Linked DNA regions of Homo sapiens: regions 2, 3, 4 and 5 are each linked to region 1. The links are contacts of gene promoters, found by promoter capture Hi-C in blood cells and fetal thymus (Javierre and others, 2016). All regions are on one chromosome and are shown on one strand. The core of a region is centred on a gene start or on the middle of the fragment in contact, and the rest is flanking DNA. Distances in the headings are between cores, read along the strand shown.

Evidence for each region. The method cuts DNA at HindIII sites, captures the fragments that hold promoters and counts their contacts. A CHiCAGO score of 5 or more calls a contact.
Region 2: a fragment that was not itself captured here is called in contact with the fragment with the promoter of CCNE2 in region 1 in 7 of 17 cell types (fetal thymus, total B cells, total CD8 T cells and 4 more); the score reaches 9.2 in fetal thymus.
Region 3: a contact is called between a fragment that was not itself captured here and the fragment with the promoter of CCNE2 in region 1, in 1 of 17 cell types (total B cells). The highest score is 7.1, in total B cells.
Region 4: the fragment with the promoter of RAD54B here is called in contact with the fragment with the promoter of CCNE2 in region 1 in 14 of 17 cell types (fetal thymus, naive CD8 T cells, total CD8 T cells and 11 more); the score reaches 20.8 in fetal thymus.
Region 5: a contact is called between the fragment with the promoter of VIRMA here and the fragment with the promoter of CCNE2 in region 1, in 12 of 17 cell types (fetal thymus, neutrophils, monocytes and 9 more). The highest score is 14.7, in fetal thymus.

Annotation. Positions count from the first base shown.
Region 1 is chr8:94,893,822-94,896,521 of GRCh38, forward strand. It overlaps CCNE2 (cyclin E2), which reads right to left and starts at 1,380. Exons shown (of 12, transcript NM_057749.3): 1 at 1,356-1,380; 2 at 387-426; 3 at 202-298; 4 at 70-123. The coding sequence starts at 400. It also overlaps a transcript of NDUFAF6 not described here. RefSeq lists an enhancer at 192-753 and silencers at 1,370-1,589, 1,970-2,069, 2,200-2,249, 2,420-2,469. The HindIII fragment of the contact is 5,265 bases long and covers 1-2,700 here.
Region 2 is chr8:95,248,586-95,251,406 of GRCh38, forward strand. The region is part of intron 5 of CFAP418 (cilia and flagella associated protein 418); the gene reads right to left. Among named protein-coding and RNA genes, the nearest start is that of CFAP418-AS1, 19 kb to the right of the region's middle. The HindIII fragment of the contact is 1,582 bases long and covers 664-2,245 here.
Region 3 is chr8:95,301,915-95,304,614 of GRCh38, forward strand. The region is part of intron 1 of CFAP418-AS1 (CFAP418 antisense RNA 1); the gene reads left to right. Among named protein-coding and RNA genes, the nearest start is that of TRS-AGA2-5, 34 kb to the left of the region's middle. The HindIII fragment of the contact is 1,315 bases long and covers 687-2,001 here.
Region 4 is chr8:94,473,715-94,476,414 of GRCh38, forward strand. RAD54B (RAD54 homolog B) reads right to left here and starts at 1,401. Exons shown (of 15, transcript NM_012415.3): 1 at 1,287-1,401. RefSeq lists an enhancer at 1,134-1,363. The HindIII fragment of the contact is 4,488 bases long and covers 693-2,700 here.
Region 5 is chr8:94,552,135-94,554,834 of GRCh38, forward strand. VIRMA (vir like m6A methyltransferase associated) reads right to left here and starts at 1,335. Exons shown (of 24, transcript NM_015496.5): 1 at 1,251-1,335. The coding sequence starts at 1,313. It overlaps VIRMA-DT (VIRMA divergent transcript), which reads left to right and starts at 1,579. Exons shown (of 2, transcript NR_183271.1): 1 at 1,579-1,773. RefSeq lists an enhancer at 1,029-1,648. The HindIII fragment of the contact is 4,366 bases long and covers 401-2,700 here.

The sequences.
Region 1 (2,700 bases), core at 130-2,629:
CATAATTCTATTCTTATTCATCTATCCTCCATTTTTCCCCCAAACCCACCCAGCCCAGTTCTGCATTACCCTAATTTCATACTGATGTTTCTTGGTGACCTCCTCTCTTCTTTTTTTGACATCCTGGAAAATAGAAAAGACCATTGGTAAACTAAAGTCCCAGCATGGAATTTCGTTCCTCCCTCTTTCTCCTTAAATCACCTGGGTAGTTTTCCTCTTCTTGGCCTGGATTATCTGGGCTTCTTGGGGGGATTCCGTCTGGCTGGGCTGGGGCTGCTGCTTAGCTTGTAAACGGCTACTGTAGTGAATTTTTAAAAAGGAAGTGTAATTAGTAAGTTAAAGGCAGCAACTAATTTGAAACATGTCTCTAAGACAGATAATGTTACCTTCGTCTTGACATTCTCTTCTTTCAGGTGTATAAAACCTCTGAAGGGGGGAGAGGAAAAGCCGCAGTCAAGTACATTGTCATTCACATTCTCCAAGTGCCAGTAAGACGCTGATTCGCAGGTGAAAGCTCAGTCCCTCCGAAGGGGGCCTGGGCCCTGTGACCCTGCCATCTTCTGTGCTATGTTAGCTAGCTCATGGTAATTCATTTTGGATACAAGCCTGCATTTCCTCAACTGAATGTACAGCTGGAACGCGAGTGTCCAAAAATTTACCAAGCACTCCTGACACCTTGAACGCGCAGGGAGGCACATCTTCCTCAAACGGGTTTTTCTGGGTCCTCCACCCTCTCCCCCGTACACCGGGAGTGGGGCTTGGGCAGCGCCCCCACGTCCCGCCTCCCTCCTGGACCAGCGGGGAGAGGGGGTTGTGGAGGCGAAATGCTGTGGAGAAGCCGGTTCCGCGCCAATTTGGAGAGCGGCGGTGGCGGGGAAGCAGGGGGCGGAGGAACCAAGACTGGTGTCACGGCCTCCAGTCTCCTTTCCCTCCTTCCCGGCCCTGCCGCCCTACCGCCGCTCGGAGGGGCGCCGGGACCCCAACTCCAGATGGGAAGCGGAGGGCGTGGGGGAGGGCAGGAAAAGGAGCTAAAGAAAGGGGAGACTGGGCTGGCTGGGAACTTTTCTCCCCATGGAGGGGACCCGGCCTCCCATCCTCTCTCCCACGGGATAGCTCCCCAAATGAGGGTGGGATAGAGAAGCCCCTAGAATGAGGGGCGGCTCTCCATGCCCAGCCGCTTCCCGGTCCCCTGCCAAGGTTCCTGACAGGGACGGAACGCGGGAACCCATGACCCCCAGTCGTCTAGTTCTCAGCCCTCCCGATTTTCCTCCCTGAGGCTCCCGCCTGTGGTAAGTGATCGGCCCAACTGGGCTTTCTTTCCTCCCACATCCCCCCTACGCGCAGCAACTCCTCACCGCCAGACCAGCTACCGCTCGGCTCAGCTGGCGCCGGCGCCAACCCAATATATAGGCCGGGCCGGTCCCGCCCCGCACGCATGCGCCTCAGACTGACACCTCCGGACAGCGCGCTCCCCTCTCCCGCCCGTCCGCCCGCGTGCCCGCGCGCCGCGCCCTGCTCTCAGTGCGCGCCCGCCACCCGGAGCGGCCGTGGGGTCCACTCTACCGGGCCTTCTGCCCGCGTCCACCGCGCTCCACGGCGCGGCCGGCGGCGGTAGGGAAACTCTCAGGGGCTCCTTCTCCGCGGCTGTTCTCCCCGCCGCCTGGCTCGCGCATCTCCCGCCAGTTTGCTTTTGCTTCCTCCCACTGCAACTCCTGGATTTCGGGGGTGTCAGCCTGCGGCTCAGCCCGGGCGCATAACAGGGGGACACGACTCGGGCGACCATAGGGTGGCTGGGAAGTGACCGTCCAGGGGCGCGCCCTAGCTGTCCCGCCAAGGCCTCAGGGAACCCAGGTCTTTCCTGAGCGACGCGGGGACCCGAGGGCCCGCCCCTCGGGGAGGAGCAAAGCGTTGGCTGAAGAGCTGGCCAATGGGAGGCACGGGCGGCAGCACAACGTGGAGTGGCTGCAGAATGTAAACACCACTCAGCCACGCGCCTGGCCAAGTGCGGCTCTGCTCTCCCCAGTCCCGGTCCGCGACCACCCGGAGCCCGCTCCGCCGGCCTTGCGCGGCGCGCCCAGGGAAGGCATTTCCAGCCCGCCCACCCAGGTATGTATCAACCCTGCTTTCCGGCTCCCTGCTCCCCCTACCGGGTTTCCCTCCCCATGGGTCGGTCGCTCCCCCAACCCGCCGCTCTGCCCCTGCAGTGGCCTCCAGCTGCCACCCCGCAGTCCCCGCGCAGGAAACGCTCGCGCCACGCCGCGCCCTCCCTTGCTTCCTCTCTTCTCCACCTCCAATTCCGGGATCCCAGAGGGTAAAACCCCTCTCCGGAGCGGGGCCCGGGAACGGCATTCCTCCTCCCCCTGAGCGCGGTGGTCCCCGGGGACCTGGCCGGGTGGGAAGAAAGATCGCCACCACGTGCAGGCCCCGGGCCCGCCTGCCGCGCCCCGCCCCGCCGCCGCCGCCAGCGCGCCCTGCGGAGCCCGCGCGAGCCGGCAGCGCGGGAGGGCGCCGTTCGCGCCCGAGCGCTGTTGGGAGGAGGGGGGCCCGACGCTCTTCCTTTATCCTTCCCCGGGTGTTTAAACTTAGGGGTCCCTTCGCTGCCTCTATGAATGCCCCCACAACTGGCGCACCCCAAAACTGCACATCGTCAAGTCAGACTTGCGGCGGGTATTCCGCAAACAGGTTTTGCGGCGGGAGCAG
Region 2 (2,821 bases), core at 205-2,704, 350 kb after region 1:
ATTAAATCAACAAGTAGGGCCATCGTAAAAATGATAAACACTGGATTTCATACTATTATAAAAAAGACTACAGAAGTTTAATTAATAAAAACATCAATTATGATTTCATGATAATCCATGTAATGAGTTCATATAAACATTCCATGGCAAAGAAAAGTAGAAAAAATTTTTAAAAAAGATGAAAAAATACAAAGTGAAAGGACGAAATACAGTATGAATACCAGAAAAAGAGATACGGTACCTAACCATTGCTTGTGGATATCACTGCAACAGAAGGCAGGCTACAAAGTGCCCTCTGGTGGTCAATGGGCACCATATTCAGTATTAAACTGTACGAAATTCAGGCACAATTTAGAAGGTTAGAACCTCACAAAACCTGACAGATTTTCCAAGCCAACTGTCTGACTTCAGGAAACAGACTGACTAGCTAAACGACTTAGCTAAGGGAAGAAATGAATAATCTAAATTTTAACAGAAAGAAAAAAACCCCGCCAAAACTAAGTTGTTGAGGAAAAATGTCCTTTATTTGATCTGCAAAATATTTTGAAAACTTAACATTTGATACTTGACTGAATCCTTAGCGATTTTAGGATTAGGAATCATGAATAGGCAGGGATCTAATTATGACATTTGAAATGGTTTTTAAAATGCACGTATCTTAAAAGCTTAGGGAAAAATCATTCCATTCTTAAAGAAAACACGATTTAATAGAAAAATAAAAGCATTTTCTTCAGCTGTTGTGGCAAGGTGGTCAGTAAGTATAGCTGACACTTCTTTTACAATGTTCTAAAACTTGTCTGGGTGTGGTGGGTCATGCCTGTAATCCCTGCACTTTGGGGAGCCAAGGTGGGTGGACCACTTGAGCTCAGGAGTTCGAGACCAGCATGGGCAACATGGTGAGACCCCATCTCTACAAAATTAGCTGGATGTGGTAGTGCGCACCTGTATTCCTAGCTGCTCGAGAGGCTGAGGCCGAAGGATCCTTTCAATCTGGGAAGTGGAGGTTGCAGTGAGCTGAAACTGCAGTCCTGCACTCTAGCCTGGGTAACAGGGTTTGCAAGATTGGCTCAGAAAAAAAAAAAAAGTTCTAAAACTTCTCAAAGATAGGATACATTTATTTCTCTCATCTGTAAAATAGGACAATAAAACAACTGCACAGCATTCCACTGTGTAACATTTAACTTGTCTTTGGTCACTGTCCACTTCTGGTTTCCTCAGTGATTATTCCACATCCTCCTCCACTCCCTTATTTTCAGCAGATCACATCTTCATTCTCAAAACCAGGTCGCCAGGTATGAAAGCCTTCAATTTCCTGGCAAGCTCACCCTGAACACATCAGTACCTTGCTGGCTTCCTCTCAGTCACAGAGGTCTTCCTTTTCCTATCCAAGGCTCACCTCCCATCAGTGCTCTTGACCCTATTGTCTCTATGACCTTGCTGCTCACATGCTTGTCCCCACCCATGTCTCCCTTCCCCTGGGTTCCTCTCATCTTATGAGCCCAGTATCTAAGAGTGTCATAGACTAGGTGCTGAATAATGTCTACTGGTAAACACCAATATATTGTACAAAATAAATCTATCAGTGATTTATATCCTAATGGTGGAGACCGCCTTATTCTTTAGCTGTTCCATTCTCTTATCTCCCAAACATATTCCTAAGTGTCTTGAGAACTGAGACAGTATTTTCTACTGATTTAAATAATGACTACTTGTTTATTTTTAATAGTATAATAAATCCTCTAGTTGTCACTGTTTTATCTAAAAGTACATATATTTTTTAAACCAGGCTGCCACAGATCTAGGGTAAACCAACTGGTGTTCTTGATAACTCTGAGATGCTGCAAGTTCCTCAAGTACCGACTAGGTTATCCATAGTTTACTTTATGCCTGTGTTCACCACTGCCTTGATGTTACATGCATTTTATTATCCTATGATAGTTTTATAAAAATTCATGCTTCATCTTGGTGACATATGGGGATTATTAACCACTTATTAGATTAACTAGTAGACAGTAAATAGCAGAGGGTTTAGAAAAGTCAGAAAAGGGAAAGTCAACCTGTAATTAAAAGCCAACTTTTCCACTTATGGGGTAAAAAGTGGGCTAAGCCTAAAAGTATGGGTTCCTAACCTCAGATTTTGGGAGTACATTAGGCTTTATTTGGGTTGGAAACTGTAAAATTTTTCAAGTTATAATTTTTCCATGTATTTTTATATTTGAATTGTATGTGTATGAGGGGCATTCAAAGCTTTCATAAGATTTGCAAAGTGGTTCTTGATGTGAAAAAGTTTAAAAACTATTAAATTAGGGTATACTCATAGATTTACCCAAGAATGGCTGCCAAAAAAGGCGTAGGGGAAAGTCTCTTACCCTTTTCTTTATGCTATTGAAAAGTGCTGCAATATTACACTGTATTAATTTTTAGCTTTAAATTTTTATTTGAAAATGTCAATGTAAAGTTCAAATATATTTTTATAACTTGTAACACCTTAAAGATAGTAGGTATTCTGTAAGTGTATAAGAATGTACAAATTATATAAATATGAGCAAGACATTATCTCAGCCACAAGGAGGGAGGTAGTCATACACCAACCTAAGAGCTTCAGTTTTATATTACAGTATATAATAGGTCCAAAGCACCGTGAATACACAGGAAGGGAAGAGTTTTCTTCCAGTTGAGAGAGTGGTGAAAGAATCATGGAAGACATGTGATGAATTATACTCTGAAGGACAGGTAGGGTTTAGGTAGATAAAATGGTGGGAAGGCATCCCAAGAGGTAAAGAGGTTGTACAAAGTCAGAGGGAATGGGAGCCTTGAGTAC
Region 3 (2,700 bases), core at 94-2,593, 410 kb after region 1:
TGCTCTTGGGGGCCGACAGGAGGAAAATGCCTGGGCCCAGGTTTAAGGACTCCTATGAAGCAGACAAACCCACCATTCCAAACTCTAGCCCTTCTCAGGCTTATCTCGGGCCAGAGCTATTCCAAGGTCCCAGGCAAAGCCAGGACTGGAACCCTTGTCTGCTTATCTAAGGCTAGTGGTGGAAGGGTGGGGATGGAGGCAACTGCAGTGAATCCTGCACCCCCACTTCCTAGGCCTCCCAACCTCCCCAGCATTTTTGAAGTTCCAAACATGTTTCTGGGTTCTCTATCTTGGTCCCCAAGCGACCTTGGCCTTAAACACATCGTGAGTCTTTAGTGCTCTGCTCAGAACTCAAAAGGTTGGTGTAACTAAGATAGAAATGCTGTGTCTACAGCCGTTGCTGTGAAATGGGAATGGAAAGGGCTGCCAGGAAGTGAAGTCTAGTCTCTCTCAATGTGTGAGGTGCAAAAAGAAAAGCTGCTGTTCTGTCTCTGAGACCTTGGATCTCTAGGAGGAGGGATGAGAGTTAAACTTCCTTTACATTTTTTCACTTTGCTATATTACTGCCTTGGACTGTTTCTACTTTTCTTCTGCTTCTATCTTCCCTTCTTTTGATGAAAGAGAAGGGGGAACTGGGCAATAATCTGATTTAATGAAACCTGCCATGCTATTTGAGAAAAACTGAAAGCTTTGTTTTAGGTTAAAATGAAAAATTGTATATAATGTAAAATTAGTAAAACAGACATGTTAGGGGAGCACGTGCTGGGATTTGTTAGAATGAAAGTACCCTGTCTCAGCTTTGAGGAACCACCGCAGCCTACTGTGGGTTGTGGGTTATGGACAAAGGCGGCACACAGGATGTCACATATGCCTGTGCAGTGAAATTATCGAGAGACTGGATGGGCAGGATTAGAGGTCAAGAGCTTGACCAGGTAAAAGGGATCTTCTAGTTCTCTTTAGATAGTTGAAGCTGACCGCTTCTCAAGGAAAAATGTGTTTTAGGGTATTCAAGAAAGCACAAGAAAATCAATATTTTTAGGCTAGTTTTAAAGGGGTATTTATTGGCTGGTGGGTTAGGCATCTAATAGTTAACCAGTAGGTTACATTTATGGATTAGTAGCTAGGAAATAAAACATGAGATTCTTTGTGTCTTAGTTTATTCAGGCTGCTGTAACAAACTACTATAGACTGGGTGGCTTAGAAACGACAGAAATTTCTTATTTCTCAGGAAACTGAGAAGTCCAAGATCAATGCAGTGGCAGATTTGGTGTCTGGTGGAGGCCCATTTCCTGGTTCATGGATGGATGGTCTTGCTGTAACTCCACATGGCAGGAGGGACAAGAGATCTCACTTAGGACTCTTTTATAAAGGCAATAATCCCATTATAAGGGACCTAATCACCTTTCAAAGATCCACCTCCTAATACCATCACCTTTCAAAGATCCACCTCCTAATACCATCACCTTGGGGTTGAGGATTTCAATACATGAATTTTTGTGGGGCATGGTGGGGGGCATTAACACTTTTTATCCATTGAAATTTTCAGAAATTTCCCACAAAACTACAGACTGAGTTTTACAAATGGTTTTCAGAGTCAGTAGCCTGAAGTCAGATAGGTTAGGTTCAAATTCCCTCACTAGTGTGCTTGATCCTGGGGCAAGTTAGTTCTCTGAACCTTGATTTCTCTCATCTTTGAAATGGGGATTATTATGGGAATTAAATGTACTACTAATGTATGCGAATGTGGTTTGTAGAGTGCCATTTAAATATTAGTCGTTATGCTTCCAAAGTCCTATTTCCTAGAAGATTAAATTGGATGTCTCATGGGGTCTCAGGAGTTTGTCTTTTGTTTTTTGATCCACCTATAGGCATACACAAAATGTATTCCAGCATCATTACCAAACTGCAGTGGTATTCTGGGATCTGAGCCTAGGTTTCTCTTTCTCTTTTAATGATAAATAAATGAATAATCACCGTGGTTGCAAAGTTCGGGTGAAGCCAAGCTTTTCCTTTTCCTCAGCGCAGGCTCTCTGGGCTGAAGCCTATGTGGAACTGGGGAAAGGCATGGCTGGGGCCTCTTTCCCTAACTTGTTCTACTTCTGCACCACTCACTCTGCTGCCCTGGATGGAGGTGGAGGTGAAAGGGAAGGTGAAGGGGCTGGGAAAGTCCTGTTTGGCAGGACAGTAGTAACCTGCCACTGAGGCGGCTTGGATGATGCAGTGTTAGTGCTTACTCTTGGTGGGCAGAGGGAGTTTGCAGTGAGTTTTCAGGGACTCTGGTCTTAGCATTTTTCTACATGCAATTCGCTTAATGTGGGCAGTTACTCCTGCAGTTGGACATCTGTGGCTCTCCCCTCAGCCCCTGGCTCCTGGCAGTCTGTCTCTCTGTTGGGGTCACCTTATCCCTCCAGGGGATCCATTTAAGATAACCAGAGTCTGGTTCTCTTCCATGGGGTTTCCAGTTGCCTAGTGAGAACTCTGTGGATGTCTGTTTCCCACTCAACGCTGGAAAGCCTGGCTGTTCCCTTCATTCTGCCTCTTTGCTACCGGGTAGCCATTCCAGCCAGCTTTTCATCTTCAACACTAGAGGGACGAGTCAGGTTTTAGTCCACAATCTCCAGGGAACAAACAGAAAACTCTCCAAGTTGCCCTCTTGAAGAGCCCTCTTGGCATTAGGAGGGGGAAGCACCACCTTCTCCT
Region 4 (2,700 bases), core at 151-2,650, 420 kb before region 1:
AGGATGCAAGAATGTAAGTACACCAACTCTACCAAGAACCAGCAACGGTCTCTCCCTGCTGTTGCTGCTTGTCGACTTCCAACTACATTAGGTAGTAATTATTTCACTTCATGCCTTAAATTGCTCCTTTGAGACTCCGGCTATATAGATGGTTCCTAATTTAGGACGGTGTCACTTAGAATTCTTCGACTTTTAAGAAAGCCATGAGCATTCAGTAGAAACTGTACAAGTAACCACACAACCGTCTGTGTTCATGATTTTGCCCAACTGTAGATTAAGGTAAGTGTTCTGAGCATGTTTAAGGTAGGCTAGCGCAGCCATAAAAAGGAATGAAATCATGTCCTTTGCAGCAACATGGGTGCAGCTGGAGGCTATTATCCAAAGCGAATTAAAGCAGAAACAGAAAATCAAATATTGCATGTTCTCACTTATAAATGGGAGCTAAACATTGGGCATTCATGAACATAAAGATGGCAACAATAGACAGTGGAGACAACTAGAAGGGAGAGGAAAGGAGGAGCAAGGGTTCAAAAACTATTGGGTAACATGCTCACTACCTGGGTGACAGGATCAATCGTATCCAAACCTCAGCACCACGTAATATACCGATGCAACAAACCTGCACATGTACCCCCAAATCTAAAATAAACAGCTGAAAATAATTTTTTTGATAACAAAAGTAGGCTAGGCCAAGCTTTAATACTCAGTAGGTTAGCTGTGTTTTAAATCCATTTTCCATTTGGGATATTTTCAACCCCGTAGTAAGTCGAGAAGCATCTGTTCCTACCTAGAAAATCTTCCATAAGGTAATCGATTAAAAGGTTTTAAGGAAATACAAGAAAAACCTGACCAGTGAAGAGGTAAAAGCCCCTAAAGAAGGCGTACCGACACTCTCCAGGACGCTCGCAGAGCCTTCACCCCCTGGCCCTGGGGAAGGAAATTCCCAGTGCAGGAGTGAGGGAGAGACCCAAAAGCCAAGAGGAGCCTGCGCAAAGCGACCGCAGTGGCGGCCCCAGGGGCCACTGCCCAGAACCATCCCTCCCACACAAACGCACAACCCTAAACCCCCACCGCCCGCCCTTCGCTCCAAGGCCCCCGGGGCCAGCAACCAGGGCGTCCCTGGCACTTCAGACCAAAGCTGCAGGCCCGCAGAAGGCCACTTCGGTCGCTCCTGCCGCCTTCCCTCCCTCCTCCCTCGTTGGCCTGCTCCGGCGCCACTCCCTGCTTTGTCCCGCACGAGCCTACAGGCTGTCGCAGCCTCCCGAGCTTCCCCCTGCAGGACGCACCGGCGAAAATCTGACAGAAACCACTGGCCCTGCAAAGAAGTCCTTCTGGTAACCAGCTATCCCCTCGCCGCCGGAGAAGCTCAAGGATCCCGCCTCGGCGAAGCCAATCGCGGACGAGCCCGCCGCGCGTGCGCACTACCTAGCCGCTGCACTGCCCTGTCCTGCCCTACTCTGATTGGACGACCCTACTGCATCACTGCGCATGTATCTTTGCGTTTGGCTTTAAATGCTTCCAAGTTTGATTCAAGTTTACGGTTCAATTAAAAAAATACTGGTTTAGTGCCTACTTTCAGACACAGTGTAGATGCCGAGGCTACAGACCTCACCATCTGCGTGGATAAGTAATAAATACGGTATGATTCGGTGTGTGCGATAATAGAAATGCGTGCATCGCAGAAGTATACGATATCCTATTGGTTATTCATTCATCCGAAAAAACATTGACTTAGCGGTGCCTGCAGGATAATTTTCAAACTCTTTGTTAGGTTCTGGGAATATAGAAACGAATACGTGATTATTAGGCTCTCAGAAAAGGGGAGCCGCCTCCGGACTTGGAAAAGCATTAAAGCATGTTAAGTAGGAAAGTTACATCATTCAATGAGTATTTACTGAGCACCTTCTAAGTGCTAGGCGGTAACACAGTCAACTATCCCTGAAAAATGGTATTAGAAAGGCTAATCTGAAAGGAGAGAGAATGGCTAAAGGTTGTTTATTGAGTTTTATCCAGCAGTTTGACAAAAAGTAAAAGCTAAAAAATATCAAGGGTGAAATGAAGATGTGAAACAATGGGAACTCTTGGGCTGCTGGTAGGAGTGTAAATAGGTACAGCCATTTAAAAGAGTAATTTGAGGCTGAGAGCGGTGGCTTGTGCCTGTAATCCCAGTACTTTGGGAGGCCGAGGCGGGCGGATCACTTGAGGTCAGGAGTTCGAGACCAGCCTGGCCAACATGGTGAAACCCGGTCTGTACTAAAAATACAAAAATTAGCTGGTTTTGGTGGAGCGCGCCTGTAATCCCAGCTACTCAGCAGACTAAGGCGGGAGAATCGCTTGAACCTGGGAGGTGAAGGCTGCAATGAACCGAGATGGTGCCGCAGCACTCCAGCCTGGGCAGCAGAGAGACCCTGTTTCAAAAAAAAAGAGTAATGTGCTTAAGGAGCTTTTATCCTGGGGACTTTTTCCAGTCATAAAGAGCACCTCATAGGTTGAGTTGTGCTTTTGGCAGCTCCTGGAGCCAGCGTTACAAGAATTTGAAATGGGGACCTGCCAAGGTTGGGCACCTTAGTAAACCGCACCCCCCTCTTCTTTGGACTGGGACACATAAAGAGTAAGGGTAACCAGAAAACAAGCTAGCTTCATAGTGTCTGCAGCCTACCTTAATATCATCTGGGGAGTTCAGAAAATCTAAAACAGATT
Region 5 (2,700 bases), core at 85-2,584, 340 kb before region 1:
ACAAACAGTGCTAACTGACCCACATTAAATGTCAGACCATAAATTAACTGTCAGTAAGAAATGCTAACTCAAAGTTCTCCAACTTTTGACTTTTACAAACCTATAAACCATTCGTTAAATTAGATCACAGCTGTCAACTTTTTATTTTGCCAAGTAAAGCATTATGATACAATCACTACCCACTATCATTACTATCTCATAAAAGAAAGAACATTTTAAACATTTTCCATTCAAATATTTATTGAGCACCTACATTTTGCTAATACTGTCCTAGGCACTGGAGATACAGCTGAGAAAAAGAGAAATTATATCTGTCCTCAAAAAGCTTGATACAAGAGCACACTTGATAAAAATAAAAGGAAAAAAATAATCTCCAAAGAAAGAACAGTTCTCTAAATTAAGCTTACATTAAGACAGAAAAATGTGAAGTTCGTTTTTTTTTTTAACAATTTCTCCGTAGACTTCATTCAAGTTCATTTTTGGTCTGCTTTCAGGAATCTTTAGTTAACCAGCTATGTTTAATCTACATATTGCAGGGCCAATTGTACATTAAGGGGCGCTCAAGTAGTTTTGTACAGAAATATTACTCCACAACATTCCACCTCCAACCTCAAAGGAGATGTCTGCTGATGAGTTTAACTATAATTCTCTCAACTCTCCCCTCTTCGCAAGTATTCTCCGTGAATGCATCTCATTCCTAATGTGTGAAATCTCTCCGAGAGACAAGTATTAAAGTTTCAGGCCAAATCGGAGAGCACCGTAATCCTAAACCAAGTAAGTGTCACAACTGGGGAACATAATTCCCGACAGAAAAGAGGCCAAAGAGAAAGGATTTAGAAACATCGTGATTCGGAAACCACGAAGCCAACGTAAACTGCTCAGACTCCGGCACTACTGTCAAACACTACTGGCAAACCAAGACCCCTCCCAAACGCCATCTGAGGTAAACCTGAGAACCCTGATCCTTCTCAAGGCCCAAACCTGACAGGAAAAATAAAAAATAAAGCCATGCAAGCAGAAAAGCCAACTCGACCAAAGACACGGAGGGCCCAAGTTAAAGCAAGGAAATGAAGGGGCTGCTGCAGCCCTCCCTCAGACGCGATGCTCACACAGCTCGGGGGAGGGTGTCTGTGTGTAAGCGAGAAATTAAAGAAGCAATCTGCAGAAGGAAAAGTGGAGAACGCCTAACGGTTTTTTTGTAAAGATCCCAAGTCAAGAAGCAGCGTCAGAATCAAGTCGCCAAGCCTTACCTCAGCGCTCGGGTGTTTAAAAGTATCTAAAAATAACAGCTCCATCGCCGAGTCCACCGCCATGTTTGCCGCGGGCGGGGAACAGGGGGGAGGACTTCCGGGGCAGCGCTCCAGCCTCCGCGACAGCGACTCAGGAGAGGGAGAAACAGAGGGACTTCCGGTGACCAGAGCACTAGCGCCGCAAACCTCGGCCTATCCCAACGCATCTTGTTGCCCGGAGTTGCCGGCCCCGCCTTTTCCAGCGCGGCGGAGGGCGCCCCCTAGAACGCAGAGGGGGGGCAGAGGGAAGTGAGATGGGGACTACGGGGTCTCCAGTGGTTCAAACCCTGTCGTTCCTCCGCGTTACAGAGCTACAGCGGTCTCCGGGTGGCGAAGTGCGGAGACGGGGTTTTGGAGACGGTGGATGGAGGAGGGGGAGGGAAAGCTGCCAACTTTGGATACCAACCCCGTACACCCACCGAAGGGGATGTCCCACTTTTTCCAGCGCTGGGAGCAAAAAGATAACAGTGAGCGAGGTTGAAAAGTAAGACATTGATTTAAATAGAAGAAAAACTGTTGTTTCAACCAACGAAGAGATTCTTTGTTTTCTTATCTGTAAAATGTGAAAAATCGTACCTAACCTACAGGGTGATTGTGAGGAGTAATTGAAATAAAATTCGAGGAATTGTGTAACGTGAAGTACCATGAACAATAAAACAGGAGGCAGAATGAAAAGTAAGCCTCTCTGTCGGGTGTTGATGAGCTTTGGAGCAACGAGATAAACTCAGCGGGTTTGGTAGTCTAAATGGCACAAACCCTTAGCAGAGCAACTAGGAAATAGCTTGTAAAATTACACGTGCCTACCACTCTTCTAGGAAAATTCTCGCCCACGTATCTACAAATACAAGAATATTCATAGCAAACTTTATAAGTTGCAAAAGAGCAGGAAACATAAGTGCCATTGACAGAAGTAATAAGTAAATAGTGGCGTATTTATATAATAGTATATAGCAGGTACGAAGAATGAACCAGTGCTATGTTTACTAGCATGAAAAACCCAAAAAACAGGGTTGGTGGGCGCTTTGGCTCACGCCTGTAATCCAGCACTTAGGGAGGATGAAGCGGGAGGATCGCTTGAGCCCAGGAGTTGGAGAACTGCCTGGGCAATATAGCGAGACCCCGTTATTCACAAAAAGAAAAAAAAAAGACACAAACCAAAACAAAACAAGTTTAACTCCTCTCATCGCAAGCCGGGTGCGGTGGCGTGTTCCTGTGGTCCCAACTTCTCGGGAAGCTGAGACAGGAGAATCTCTTAAGCCCAGGAGTTGGAGGCCAGTGGGGACACCCATCTCTTAGAAAAGGAAATAAAAAATATATAGTGTAAAATAACATCTATATATTTAAAAACGTGCAAAAGAATATAAAATTTTAGGAGTGTACATATGTCATGAAATTATAAAGTCATGTATTG